Regions from separate parts of the Homo sapiens genome. Here region 2 is linked to region 1. Evidence: promoter capture Hi-C in 16 types of primary human blood cells and fetal thymus (Javierre and others, 2016). All regions are on one chromosome and are shown on one strand. The core of a region is centred on a gene start or on the middle of the fragment in contact, and the rest is flanking DNA. Distances in the headings are between cores, read along the strand shown. Region 1 holds the start of UBR1 (ubiquitin protein ligase E3 component n-recognin 1). Region 2 overlaps STARD9 (StAR related lipid transfer domain containing 9).

The links. The method cuts DNA at HindIII sites, captures the fragments that hold promoters and counts their contacts. A CHiCAGO score of 5 or more calls a contact.
Region 2: a contact is called between a fragment that was not itself captured here and the fragment with the promoter of UBR1 in region 1, in 1 of 17 cell types (fetal thymus). The highest score is 5.6, in fetal thymus.

The regions. Positions count from the first base shown.
Region 1 is chr15:43,104,643-43,111,219 of GRCh38, reverse strand. It overlaps UBR1 (ubiquitin protein ligase E3 component n-recognin 1), which reads left to right and starts at 5,182. Exons shown (of 47, transcript NM_174916.3): 1 at 5,182-5,278. The coding sequence starts at 5,198. RefSeq lists an enhancer at 5,084-5,363. The HindIII fragment of the contact is 7,548 bases long and covers 1-6,577 here.
Region 2 is chr15:42,703,220-42,709,641 of GRCh38, reverse strand. The region is part of intron 26 of STARD9 (StAR related lipid transfer domain containing 9); the gene reads right to left. It overlaps LOC124903605 (small nucleolar RNA U13), which reads left to right and starts at 850; the gene lies at 850-950. The HindIII fragment of the contact is 2,495 bases long and covers 3,438-5,932 here.

The DNA of each region.
Region 1 (6,577 bases), core at 3,933-6,432:
CCCGGGTTCCAGCAATTCTCTGCCTCAGCCTCCCAAGTAGCTGGGATTACAGGCACCCACCACCATGCCCAGCTAATGTTTTGTATTTTTAGTAGAGACGGGTTTTCACCAACTTGGCCAGGCTGATCTTGAACTCCTGACTTCGTGATCCACCCGCCCTGGCCTCCCAAAGTGCTGGGATTACAGGCGTGAGCCACCGTGCCTGGTCCAAATAGTATACATTTTTTAAAAAAGGCTTCTGAATATTGCCACACCACCTTCCAAGAGGTTTACCAATTTACATTTGCATTTTACTTAATAATATGGTTGTCCTTCCAGCTTCTTACCAACACTGATTATCTTCCAAAAAAAAAAAAAAAACCTTGCCAAATTTACGGACAATAAATCATATCCAATTTTTACTTATTTTGCATTTATTTGCTTACTAGTTAGGTCTTTTTCACAAATTAATAAAAATTAGTAAGTTGCACATTTATGTCTTTCATCCATTTTTCTTTTGGAATAGTCGTCTTTAGGATTTTTTTTTTTGTTTTTTTTGAGACAGGATCTCACTCTGTTGCTGAGGCTGGAGTGCAGTGGCCTGATCTTGGCTCACTGCAACCTCTGCCTTCTGGGCACCAGTTATCCTCCCATCTCAGCCTCCTGAGTAGCTGGGACTATAGGCACATGCCACCACGCCCAGCTAATTTTTGTATTTTTTGCAGAGACAGGGTTTTGCCATGTTGCCCAGGCTGGTCTGGAACTCTTGGGCTCAAGTGATTCACCCTCCTCGGCCTCCCAAAGTATTGGGATTACAAGCATGTGCCATGGTGCCTGGCCACTTTGGGATTTTATCCTTTGATCTGCCATGTCTACTGCAGACATTTTTCCCTAGTTTTTGTTTACCTTTTAAATTTTATGTCATTTATTTTTATGTTTTTAATTTTAATAAAATTACATATAAGTATTTTTATGTTTATATTTTTTGCCTTTAGCAACATGCTTAAAAAAGACTTCTCCAATGCAATATTAAAAAAATATTTACTTTGGGCAGGGCTCAGTGGCTCATGCCTGTAATTCTAGCACTTTGGGAGGCAAAGGTGGGTGGATCACTTGAGCCCAAGAGTTCGAGATCAGCTTGGGCAACATGGAGAAACCCTGTCTCTACAAAAAAATACAAAAATTAGCCAGGCATGGTGGTGCATGCCAGTGGTCTCAGCTGCTTGGGAGGCTGAGGTGGGAGGATCGCTTGAGTCCTGGAGGTAGAGTTGAAGTGAGCCAAGACCATGCCACTGCACTCCAGCCTGAGTAACAAAGCAAGACCCTGTCTCCAAAAAAATAATAATAATTTTTACTTATTTACTCTTTTTAGCAGTTAACTCTTTAATCTGTTAATAATTATTCTGAGGGCCGGGCGCGGTGGCTCATGACTGTAATCCCAGCACTTTGGGAGGCCGAAGCAGGCGGATCACGAGGTCAGGAGATCGAGACCATCCTGGCTAACATGGTGAAACCCTGTCTCTACTAAAAATATAAAAAATTAGCCGGGCGTGGTGGCATGCACCTGTAATCCTAGCTACTCAGGAGGCTGAGGCAGGAGAATCACTTGAACCCGGGAGGCGGAGGTTGCAGTGAGCCGAGATTGCACCACTGCACTCCAGCCTGGGTGACAGAGCAACACTCCGTCTCAAAAAAAAAAAAAAAAAGAATTATTTTGGGGTATGATTTGAGGTAAGGATCTGACCATCTTTTCCCAGATGGTTACTTATTCTTTAAATGTTTCTTTTTTTTTTTTTGAGACAGAGTCTCGCACTGTCACCCAGGCTGGAGTGCAGTGGCGCGATCTCGGCTCAACACAACCTCCGCCTCCCGGATTCAAGCGATTCTCCTACCTCAGTTTCCCGAGTAGCTGGGATTACAGGCATGCACCACCATGCCCGGCTAATTTTTGTATTTTTAGTAGCGATGGGGTTTCACCATGTTGGCTAGCTTGGTTTCGAACTCCTGACCTCCAGTGATCCGCTGGCCTTGACCTCCCAAAGTGCTGGGATTACAGGCTTGAGCCACCACGCCCGGCCTCTTTAAATTTTTTTATTGTGGTAAAATATACGTAAAATTTACCATTTTAACCACTTTTAAGTATACCATTCAGTGGCATTAGATATATTCATATTGTTATGCAACCATTACCACTACACATCTCCAAAACTTTTTCATCTTTCCAAAATGAAACTCCGTATCCATTAAACTCGATTCTCTCCTCCTCTCAGACCCTGGAAACCACCATTCTACTTTCTGTGTCTATGAATTTGACTACTCTAGGTATGTATTATAAGTCAAATTACACAGTATTTGTCTTTTTGTGACTGGCTTCTTTTATTTAGCCTAATGTCTGTAAGGTTCATCCATGCTGTGGCATGTGTCACAGTTTCCTTCCCTTTAAAGGCTGAATAATATTCCATTGCATGTATATGCCACATTTTGTTTATCCACTCAGCTGTTGATGGACACTTGGGTTCCTGCCACCATTTGACTATACTGAATAATGCTTCAATGAACACAGGTATACAAACATCTGTTCAAGACCCTGCTTTCACTTCTTTTGGATATATACCCAGAAGTGGAATTGCTGGATCACATGGGAATTCTATGTCTAATTTTGTTTTTTGAGGAACTGCTACATAACCATCTGTTTTTGCACCACTTAATAAACAGTCCGGCTGGGCGTGGTGGCTCACACCTATAATCCCAGCACTTTGGGAGGCCGAGGCGGGCGGATTACCTGAGGTCGGGAGTTTGAGACCAGCCTGACCAACATGGAGAGACATCGTGTCTACTAAAAATACAAAATTAGCCAGGCATTGTGGTGCATGCCTGTAATCCCAGCTACTTGGGAGGCTGAAGCAGGGGAATTGCTTGAACCCGGGAGGCGGAGGTTGTGGTGAGCTGAGATCACGCCACTGCACTCCAGCCTGGGTAACAAGAGCGAAACTCCATCTGAAAAAATAAATAAATAAGCAGTTCATAATTTCCTTCTCACTTGAAATGCTGTTATCTTTCATGTGTAAAATACTTGAATTTGGTATAAAGTAATAAAGTGAAATGGATAAGAATAGGGCCTTGTGAGTCATTTGAACTGGATTTTATTTATTATTATTTTTTGGTAGAGGTGGGAGTCTTGCTATGTTGCCCATCTCAAACTCCTGGGCTCAAGTAATCCTCCCGCCTTGGCCTCCCAAAGTGCTAACATTACAGGGGTGAGCCATTGTGCTGGCTGAATATCTGCTGTGTCACTTGGAAGCTGCATGTCCCTAACCAAATTATGTAACTTCTCTAAACTTCAGTTTTCTCAGTTTCTCATGACAGTAAAATAGAAGTAGTAACATCTACCTAAAGGATTGTTATTAATATATAGCTAGTGTTATTAATATACTAGTGCTTTGATTACATTAAGATGTTGATAAGTGGCTATTATTTCTTTTTATTTTCTGTTTTTTCTTTTTCTTTTTTTTTTTTTTTGAGACAGAGTTTTGCTCTTGTAGCCCAGGCTGGAGTGCCAGTGGCATGATCTTGGCTCACTGCAAACTCTACCTCCTGGGTTCAAGCAATTTTCCTGCCTCAGCCTCCTGAGTAGCTGGGATTACAGGCACCTGCCACCACACCCAGCTAATTTTTGTATCTTTAATAGACATGGGGTTTCACTGTGTTGTCCAGGCTGGTCTCGAACTCCTGACCTCAGGTGATCCACTCACCTTGGCCTCCCAAAGTGCTGGGATTACAGGCGTGAGCCACTGCCCCGACCTATTTCTGAACGTTCTAGTCTATTTCATTTATCTAGGAATGAAAGAAGAAAAAGAGAAGAGCGTGGGGTAGCATAAGAGAACTACAGAAGTAAAAGCATAGAGACAGGAAGGGACAAGGTAACTTTTAGGGCAATTTTTATCAAAATGTGGGACAATACCTATTGTGGGTTATAGTATCACTTTAATAACTACAACCAGTATTTTGGCTTAAATGCATAAACATATTGCAATTGAATAGAAAATATGACATATTGGAAGTATTGTTTCAGAAAATTTAAGTTTCAGTATATATATACATATTCTATATATACCCATTTAATTTTGTATAGGTGTACCGTGATAAGATGTAAAATGTATTTATTGTGGTTGTTGGGCAAAAAAGGCTGGAAAAACAGTATTTTAGCACCCAGGAAGTAGTTCATTTGAGCAGAAACATTGTTTAGGCAGGAAAGTTCTATAAATCAAGGTGGACCACAGCATTTGGAAAGCCTCCTCTACTTTTCACATTGTTTGGAGCTTTATTTTCTTCCCTTTGTTAAAAATATACTTTAAAATTATTTGTTTTGTAAAAAATTTAAAATACAAATGAAGGTAAAGTAGCTCTTGACCACCTTCTTCCTCCAATCCGAATCCTGGCCCTCAGAGTTACTACTTTGCCCTTTCCCCTTTCAGACTTACTCCTTCACATTTAAATGCCTATGTGTGCAAATATATAGTTTGCAGCAACTTGGCTTTTTTTTCTCTCAATTTATCTTGATCTTTTCACGCAGATTTATCTTGCTCAAGAGCTGCACAGTATTTCAAAATGCGAATGTACCATAGTATATCTTGTCTTTCCTCTATCGATGAATGACTAGGTTTCCAATTTTTTGTTATTTCCCCCCGTGTCCCCCAATAAAGCTGGATCCCGAGCTTTTTTTGTACACATGTGCAAGTGCCCACGGGGTAGAATCCTAAAAATAGAAGATGTGTGAGTACTTTCTTTTTCATTTTGTAGGCTCTGGGGAACTACTGCAGGGAGGTTGGGATACAAAACATCCCCAGGCCAACAACCGGCCAGCTAGGACAGGTTCTTGCTTTAGCCCCCGACAAGTTTTCTTCCTTTCATAATGGACGCTGACTTTGTTTTTTTTACCTCGTAGATGCAACAGTTCCCAGCACCAAACCCAGATATACAACCATTCAGCTACCAAGAGCTACGCCTGATAAATTAGAGGGGAAAAAAAAAATCTCCAGTCCCTTCACGTCGTGACGCTTGCTTCCGGGAAGCGGGCCGGAAGCCACTCCTCGAGTCTGCGTCAAACCCGACTTCAGGGGCCGTCGTAAAAGTGTCGTCCCTGTCTCTCCGACCGGCCACAGGTTTCCGCTTGCCTCTGGCCGGGGGTCGGCAACTGCAGGCGTCAGTTTCCCTCAAGATGGCGGACGAGGAGGCTGGAGGTACTGAGAGGATGGAAATCAGCGCGGAGTTACCCCAGACCCCTCAGCGTCTGGCATCTGTAAGTCCCTATAGGCAAGTCTCTTTTGTCCTCCCCCCGGTCCCTCCCTACTGCGCTTAGGAGGATGTGGGGCTTCACCCCTTATGGCGGCTCTGGGGAGGGGGAGTTATCTGGATTGATCTGGAAGGAAGCCACCGAATAAAAAGTTAGTCGCAACCCACATTTCTGCCAGCCAAGTCTACGGAATATAATGACTTTGTTATGTATTATTCTTGATGATCTCAAGTGTGCATGTCTCTATTCTGAAGTAGAAAGAACCAGTGATGTTATTAGACGGTTTGATGTGGGGGCCGAGGCGGGGTTGGAGCAAGAGCCATTTTCGTATAGAAGCAGTACTAACCCTTTACTCTTGATGATGGGAACGCAGCACCTGGTATTTTATTGCATAGCCTGCTGGCCGGGACCTGATATTGGTAGGTAGTGCTGCTACTGTCAAGTCATGTCTAGATGTGAGGTGTAGTAATTGTCCTTGCGTATAGCATCTTGGGAACCCCAGGCCTAACCCTCAGTGGAGAAACCCATCATCTGTCGCTACTTTTTAAAGGTGAAGAAAGGACTCCCAAACATTTCAAGCCAGAGCAATACCATTAATTGATGTCGGAATCTATACTTTGCTCTTGCATTTTGAAAGAATGGGAAGGCACAGATAGTGAACAAATTTGAGTCACTAGCTACAGGGAGAAAGCTGCCGAGGAAGATAAGAGTAGGGGGCAATGTTAGGGAATGTTCTGGATGCCCAGGGCATCTAGTGTGGAGATATGTAGAAAATATTCAAATATCTGTCACCGCATGATGTTTTATTAGTTTGTCTTTCTAAATAGCAGCATTTAGAGATTTGGGATATACACATTTTTTCTGAAGTTTCTTTGGCTTGTAGTTTAATAAAAACATTATTTTATTTTATTTATTTTTTGAGGCAGAGTTTTGCTCTTGTTGCCCAGGCTGAAGTGCAGTGGTGTAATCTCGGCTCACTGCAACCTTCCGAGTTCAGGAATTGAACTGCAAATTCCCGAGTTCAGGAATTCTCCTGCCTCAGCCTCTTGAGTAGCTGGGATTACAGGTGCCTGCCACCATGCTTGCCTAATTTTTTTTATTTTTATTTTTATTAGAGACGGGGTTTCACCATGTTGGCCAGGCTGATCTCGAACTCCTGACCTCAGGTGATCCACCTGCCTCGGCATCCCAAAGTGCTGGGATTACAGATTAAAAGCATTCTTGAAGGTTTTTTGTTTTTTTTTTTAACCCTGCATACAATTGAACATTGTTTTATGCGAGAACAGAGGGAACTACAGAGGGAGC
Region 2 (6,422 bases), core at 3,436-5,935, 400 kb after region 1:
GCCATCTCAGCTCAATGCAAACCCCGCCTCCCGGGTTCAAACTATTCTCCTGTCTCAGCCTTCTGTGTAGCTGGGTCTACAGGCGTGTGCCACCATGCCTGGCTAATTTTTGTATTTTTAGTGGAGACGGGGTTTCACCATGCTGACCAGGCTGTTCCTGAACTCCTGACCTCGTGATCCGCCCGCCTCTGCCTCCCAAAGTGCTGGGATTACAGGCGTGAGCCACCTTGCCCAGCTAGTCTCCAAGATTTTTTGAGACAGGGTCTCCCTCTGTCCAAGGCCAATGATGTAATCATGGCTCACTGCAGCCTCCATTCCCCTCCAGGCTCAAGCGATCCTCCCACCTCAGCCTCCCAAGTAGCTGGGACCACAGGCATGCACCACCAACATAGCTTTTGTGTGTGTGTGTGTAGAGATGGCGTATCACTATGTTGCCTAGGCTGATCTCAAAATACTGGACTCAAGTGATCCTCCTGCCTCAGCTTTCCAAAGCACTGGGATTACAGGCGTCAGCCACCACATTCAGCCATGTTCATTAATCATAAAGGACAATATAGCAACATTCAGTGGAGAGACCCCCAACCACCACCTTAACATCAAAGTTCACATCACCAGAAACAGGACATGTCGGTATCCGGTAACCTCTGATACAATGCACCGAGAATAAGGTATTGCATGAGACATACTTATACTATAAAACTATTTGTTGTCTAAAATTTGAATTTAACTAGCATCCTGTATTTTTCTTTGCCTAATCTGTCAACCTTCAGAAGGGCAAATCACTTCTATGGTATTTTTTTTGCCAAAAACGCATAACTTCAATCCAACCATAAGAAAACCACAGACACGATCCTTTTGTAGTTCGTAAGCATGACGATCGGGTTTTCACATACATGTCTCAGAAGTGCCTCTCTCAAACCTTGTTACGTCAGCACATTACCTGTCTTACATGAAAAAAAAAAGAAAAAAAGCAAGAAACAGCAGATAAATACATTCCAAAAAATTACTAACCACGAAGCAAGAAAAGACTGAGAAACTATCACAATAGGAAAAAGAAACTGATAACAACATACACAGAAATGAATAAGTTAGAATCAAAAGGGGCTCCAGGAGAGATGAAATATCTAAACCAAAGGCTGGCAAAACTTTTTCTGTGGGGAGCTAGATACTGAATATTTAAGGCTTTGTGGGCCATTTGAGTAGCTGCAGCTACTCAACTCTCTGCCACTGTAGTGGGAACACAACCATAGAAGACATGTACATGAATGGGCATGACTGTATTCCGGTAAAACTTTATTTACAAAAACAGGAAGCAGGCCAGATCTGGCCAAAGGGCCATAGTTTGCTAACCCCTGATCTTAACAGACCATCTTCCATTGAAGAAGTTTTTCAAATAACTAATCCCCTACTGAAACACCAAGCCTTGTCAATTTAAAAGGATTATTATATCAAACTTTAAAAGATGATTCAAAAGAAATTTTTTTTTTTTGAAACAGGGTCTTGCTGTGTCACCCAGGCTGGAGTGCAGCAGCATGGTCACAGCTCACCACAGCCTCGACTTCCCAGGCTCAAGCAATCCTCCCACCACAGCCTCCTGAGTAGCTAGGACTACAGGTGTGCAGCACCACCCTGGCTTTTTTTTTTTTTTCTATGTTGCCCTGTCTGGACTCAAACTCCTGGGCTCAAGCAATCCTCCTGCCTCAGCCTCCCAAAGTGCTGAGATTACAGATGTGAGCCACCGTGTCTGGCTCTCAAATTTTTTTACTTTTCATCCCCATTTCACACTCCCATCCAAATCATTCTGATGTGCTTAGAGTGTATCTTTTTGTTTGTATGTGTTCTTGCAAAAAGTGATTGTTGTGTATGTTGTATTTATATACTGTATATGTTGTTTAATTCACAAATAGTAATATATCTCATCTTATGGGCGGATCATGAGGTCAGGAGTTCAAGACCAGCCTGGTCAACATAGTAAAAGTCCGTCTCCACTAAAAATACAAAAAAATAAGCTGGGCATGGTGGCAGGCACCTGTAGTCCCAGCTACTGGGGAGGCTGAGGCAGGAGAATTTCTTGAGCCCAGGAGTCGGAGGCTGGAGTGAGCCGAGATCGTGCCACTGCACTCCAGCCTTGGCGACACAGCAAGACTCTGTCTCAAAAAAAAAAAAAAAAAAAGTTTTTCACTCAGTATTCTGCCTAGGTGTTTAATCTGCTGATTTCGAGTCTTGCATAGTATTAATATTTCATGTGTGCAACTACCACATTTTACCTATCCACTCTTCTCAGTGATGGATTTGCGAATGTCCTCCAACTCATTGCCACTTCAAATAATGCCTTAATAAACAATTCCTTACATGTTCTCTCATAACCTATGCAAACATTGCTGAGTCATAGGAACCTGTAATGGTTCCAATATCCTCAAAGTCCTGCCAAAATCTGGCATCATCTGGCTTCCTAAATTTTGCCAACTTAATAAGTATAAAGTTTTTATTACTTTTTTAACTATTCATAAACCTTGAAAAAGAAAACTACCACCTTTCTTTCCTATTAAAGGAGTATAAAGTAATAACAAAACCTAAGGAATATATTGTGAAAGCAAAAACCACAGAAAAATTCAAATATGGATGCAAAATTCTAAAATATAACTGGACTCCAACACATTAAAAGAATAGTATATCAGAATCATAAATATATATTATAGGATTTATTCCAGGAATGCAAGAATAGTTCAATATTAGCCCCAAAATAGATAGATGGATGGATGAATGAATGAAATCATCTCCAAAGACTCTGAAATACCCATTCTGGATAAGAATATGCTATAAAGTAGGAATAGTTGGATATTTCCTTAGTATTGCAAAAATATATCTATCTCAGCTCAAAAGCTATAAAAAAGCCAGGTGTGGTGGCTCACGCCTGTAATCTCAGCATTTTGGGAGGCCGAGATGGGTGGATCACCTGAGGTCAGGGGTTCGAGACGAGCCTGGCCAGCATGGTGAAACCCAATCTCTACTAAAAATACAAAAATTAGCCAGGCATGGTGGCAGGCGCCTGTAATCCCAGCTCTTCGGGAGGCTGAGGCAGGAGAATCGCTTAAAGATTGAGGCGAAGGTTGCAGTGAGCCGAGATCATGCCACTGCACTCCAGCCTGGGCAACAGAGCAAGACACTGTCTCAAAAAAAAAAAAAAATTAAGATAGGTACATGTATTAGCAGCTACTAAATTAGTAGTGCAGGTCTAGAGAATCAACCAAAAAAATAGATGCAAAATTAATTCACAGAAATCTATAGCTTTAATACACACAAAATAATCAGAAGATATAAAGGAACGAAAAAACCTATTTACAAGAGTAACAAAAAACTTAAAATACTTAGAAATAAATCTGACAAGAAATGTGAGAGACATATGAAGAAAACTTTAAAAACATAAAAAGAAAGCTTGAACCTAGTACATTTTTGGTTAGAAAGTTCTATAGCATAAGACGTGGTTTCTCCCTAAGTCAATCCACATGATCCTATTAAAAATAGTAACAAGTTCTTGCAATTGAACTAGACAAGGTGATCCTAAATTTCATATAAAAAATAAACAACAGGACGGGTGCGGTGGCTCACGCCTGTAATCCCAGCACTTTGGGAGGCTGAGGTAGGCAGATCACTCGAGGTTAGGAGTTTGAGAAAAGCCTGGCCAACATGGTGAAACCCCATCTCTACTAAAAACACAAAAATTAGCCAGGCGTGGGGGCAGGCGCCTGTAATCCCAGCTACTCAGCAGGCTGAGACAAGAGAATCGCTTGAACCCAGGAGGTGGAGGTTGCAGTAAGCTGAGATCACGCCCCTGCACTCCAGCCCGAGTGAGAGAGTGAGACTCCATCTCAAAAAATAAAAAATAAACAAACAAACAACAGGCTGGGTGCAGTAGCTCATGCCTGTAATCCCAGCACTTTGTTCAGCTGAGGTGGGCAAATCACCTGAGGTCAAGAGTTTGAGACCAGCCTAGCCAACACTGAAAACCCCATCTCTATTAAAAATACAAGAAAAATTAGCCAGGCATGGAGGGTGATGCATGCCTGTAGTCCCAGGTACTCGGAGTGCTGAGCCAGGAAGAATCGCTTGAACCTGGGAGGCGGAGGTTGCAGTGAGTCAAGATGGCGCCACAGCACTCCAGTCTGAGTGACAGAGCAAGACTCCATCTCAAAAAAATAAACAAACAACAGATCAGTAACACAGAGGCACAACAAGATGGCAGAATAGGACCCGTCAGTGATAGTTCCCCACAGAAACATCAATTTGAACAACAATCCACAAAAGAAAATATCTTCGCTAGAGCTAGGAAAACCAGTTGATAGATAAAAGTACTAGATTTTACAAGGAGAAGAAGATGCATTAAAGATAATAGGAAGGACAGTCTCATATTATCTGTACCAACCCTTCCCCAACCCTAGGTAGTGATGAGAGACACCGCCCACATGGCAGAAGGAGAGGTTAGTGGACATGGGACTTTGCCTTAGAGCCCAGTACTAAGTCTGCCACAGTAATACACAGAACCAGAAAAAACCCCACAGCCTAATTCCAGGCCTGTGCCCACGGACAAAGATTGTGGACCCACACTAAGCACCAGAAAGGAATTCCCCACCCCATCAGGATGAATGGGATTCTCACATCACTGGGCCCCAAATAAATTTCAGCATGGTAGCAGCCTGGGCCTTGGGCATGACCCATTTCCACCCTGGTCCAAGAGGCCATAGGCTTCAGGTGTAGCCCTGCATAGCATCAGCTGTGGCAGCCACAGGACTGCCCACATCACCTTTCCCTCCAACTGTAGGCAACATGGTACAGAGAAAGACACCATCTACTTTAGGGAAGGAGACCGAATTATGCATGAAACTTTTCCTTGGAACCCAGTACCAAGCCCACAACAACAAAACCAGCACCTGGTTCAGGGCCCTGGCCAGCATTACCACACGAGGTGGGGAACTCTCCCTGGGTCTTACTCAGGTCCATCGGGGCCAGGGACATTGGAGTCTGTAACAGAGTCCCAGCTACATAGGCTTACAGTGCCCTCTAGCGCTAAGATGGCTACAGTGACCACAGGCTTAGGGAACTCAACAGTCAGGCTCCTTTGAATTCCTGGAAGGCTCTCTGAAAGACAGGTACAAACAAGGCCAGATTGCAAAAATTGGAATATATATCAATTTCTTCAATGCCCAGATATTGACACACATTGGAAAGCATCAAGAACATTAAGGGAACTATGACCTCACCAAACCAACTAAATAAGGTGCCAGTGATCCATCCTGAAGAGATTGAGAAGTATAATCTAAGACAGGGAATTCAAAATAGTTGTTTTGAGGTAGCCCAATAAACTTCAAGAAAACACAGAGAAATAATTCAGAAATCTATGAGAGAAACTTTACAAAGAGATTAAAATAATCTTGGCCAGGCGTGGTAGCTCATGCCTGTAATCCCAGCACTTTGGGAGGCCGAGGCAGGCAGATCACCTGAGGTCAGGAGTTCGAGACCAGCCTGACCAACATGGTAAAACCCCATCTCTACTAAAAATACAAAAAAAATTAGCCGGGCGCTGTGTCAGGTGCCTGTAATCCCAGCTACTCGGGAGGCTGAGGCAGGAGAATCGCTTGAACCCGGGAGGCGGAGGTTGCCGTGAGCCAAGATCACGCCACTGCACTCCAGCCTGGGCAACAAGAGTGAAACTCCATCTCAAAATAAATAAATAAGTAAATAATAATAATAATCTTTTAAAAATCAAACAGAAATCCTGGAGGTGAAATACACTGAACAAACAAAAATGCATTAAAATGCTGTCTTGACAGCAGAAATTATAAAGCAGAAGAATAAATCTGTGAGCTCAAAGACAGGATATTTGAAAATACAGAGGAGGAAAGAAAAAAAGAATGAAAAAGAACAAAAGAAAGCTTAAAGAATCTGTGTGATAGTGTCAAAAGAACAAATGTGGCCAGGCGCGGTGGCCCACGCCTGTAATCCTAGTATTTTGGGAGGCCGAGGTGGGTGGATCATGAGGTCAGGAGTTCAAGACCAGCGTGACCAACATGGTGAAACCCTGTCTCTACTAAAAATACAAAAAAAAAAAAAAAATCAGCCAGGCATGGTGGCTGGCGCCTATAATCTCAGCTACTTGGGAGGCTGAGGCAGGAGAATTGCTTGAACCCTGGAGGCGGAGGCTGCAGTGGGCAGGGATTGTGCCACTGCACTCCAGCCTGGGTGAACAGTGCAAGACTCCATCTAAAAAAAAAAAAAACAAACAAAACAAAAAAAACAAATGTACGAGTCACTGGCATTCAAGAGGGAGTGCAGAATGAGAACGGAGGGGAGTAGAAAGTTTATTCAAAGCAATAATAACAGGGAACTTTCCAAACCTAGAGAAAGATATAAATATTGAGGTATGG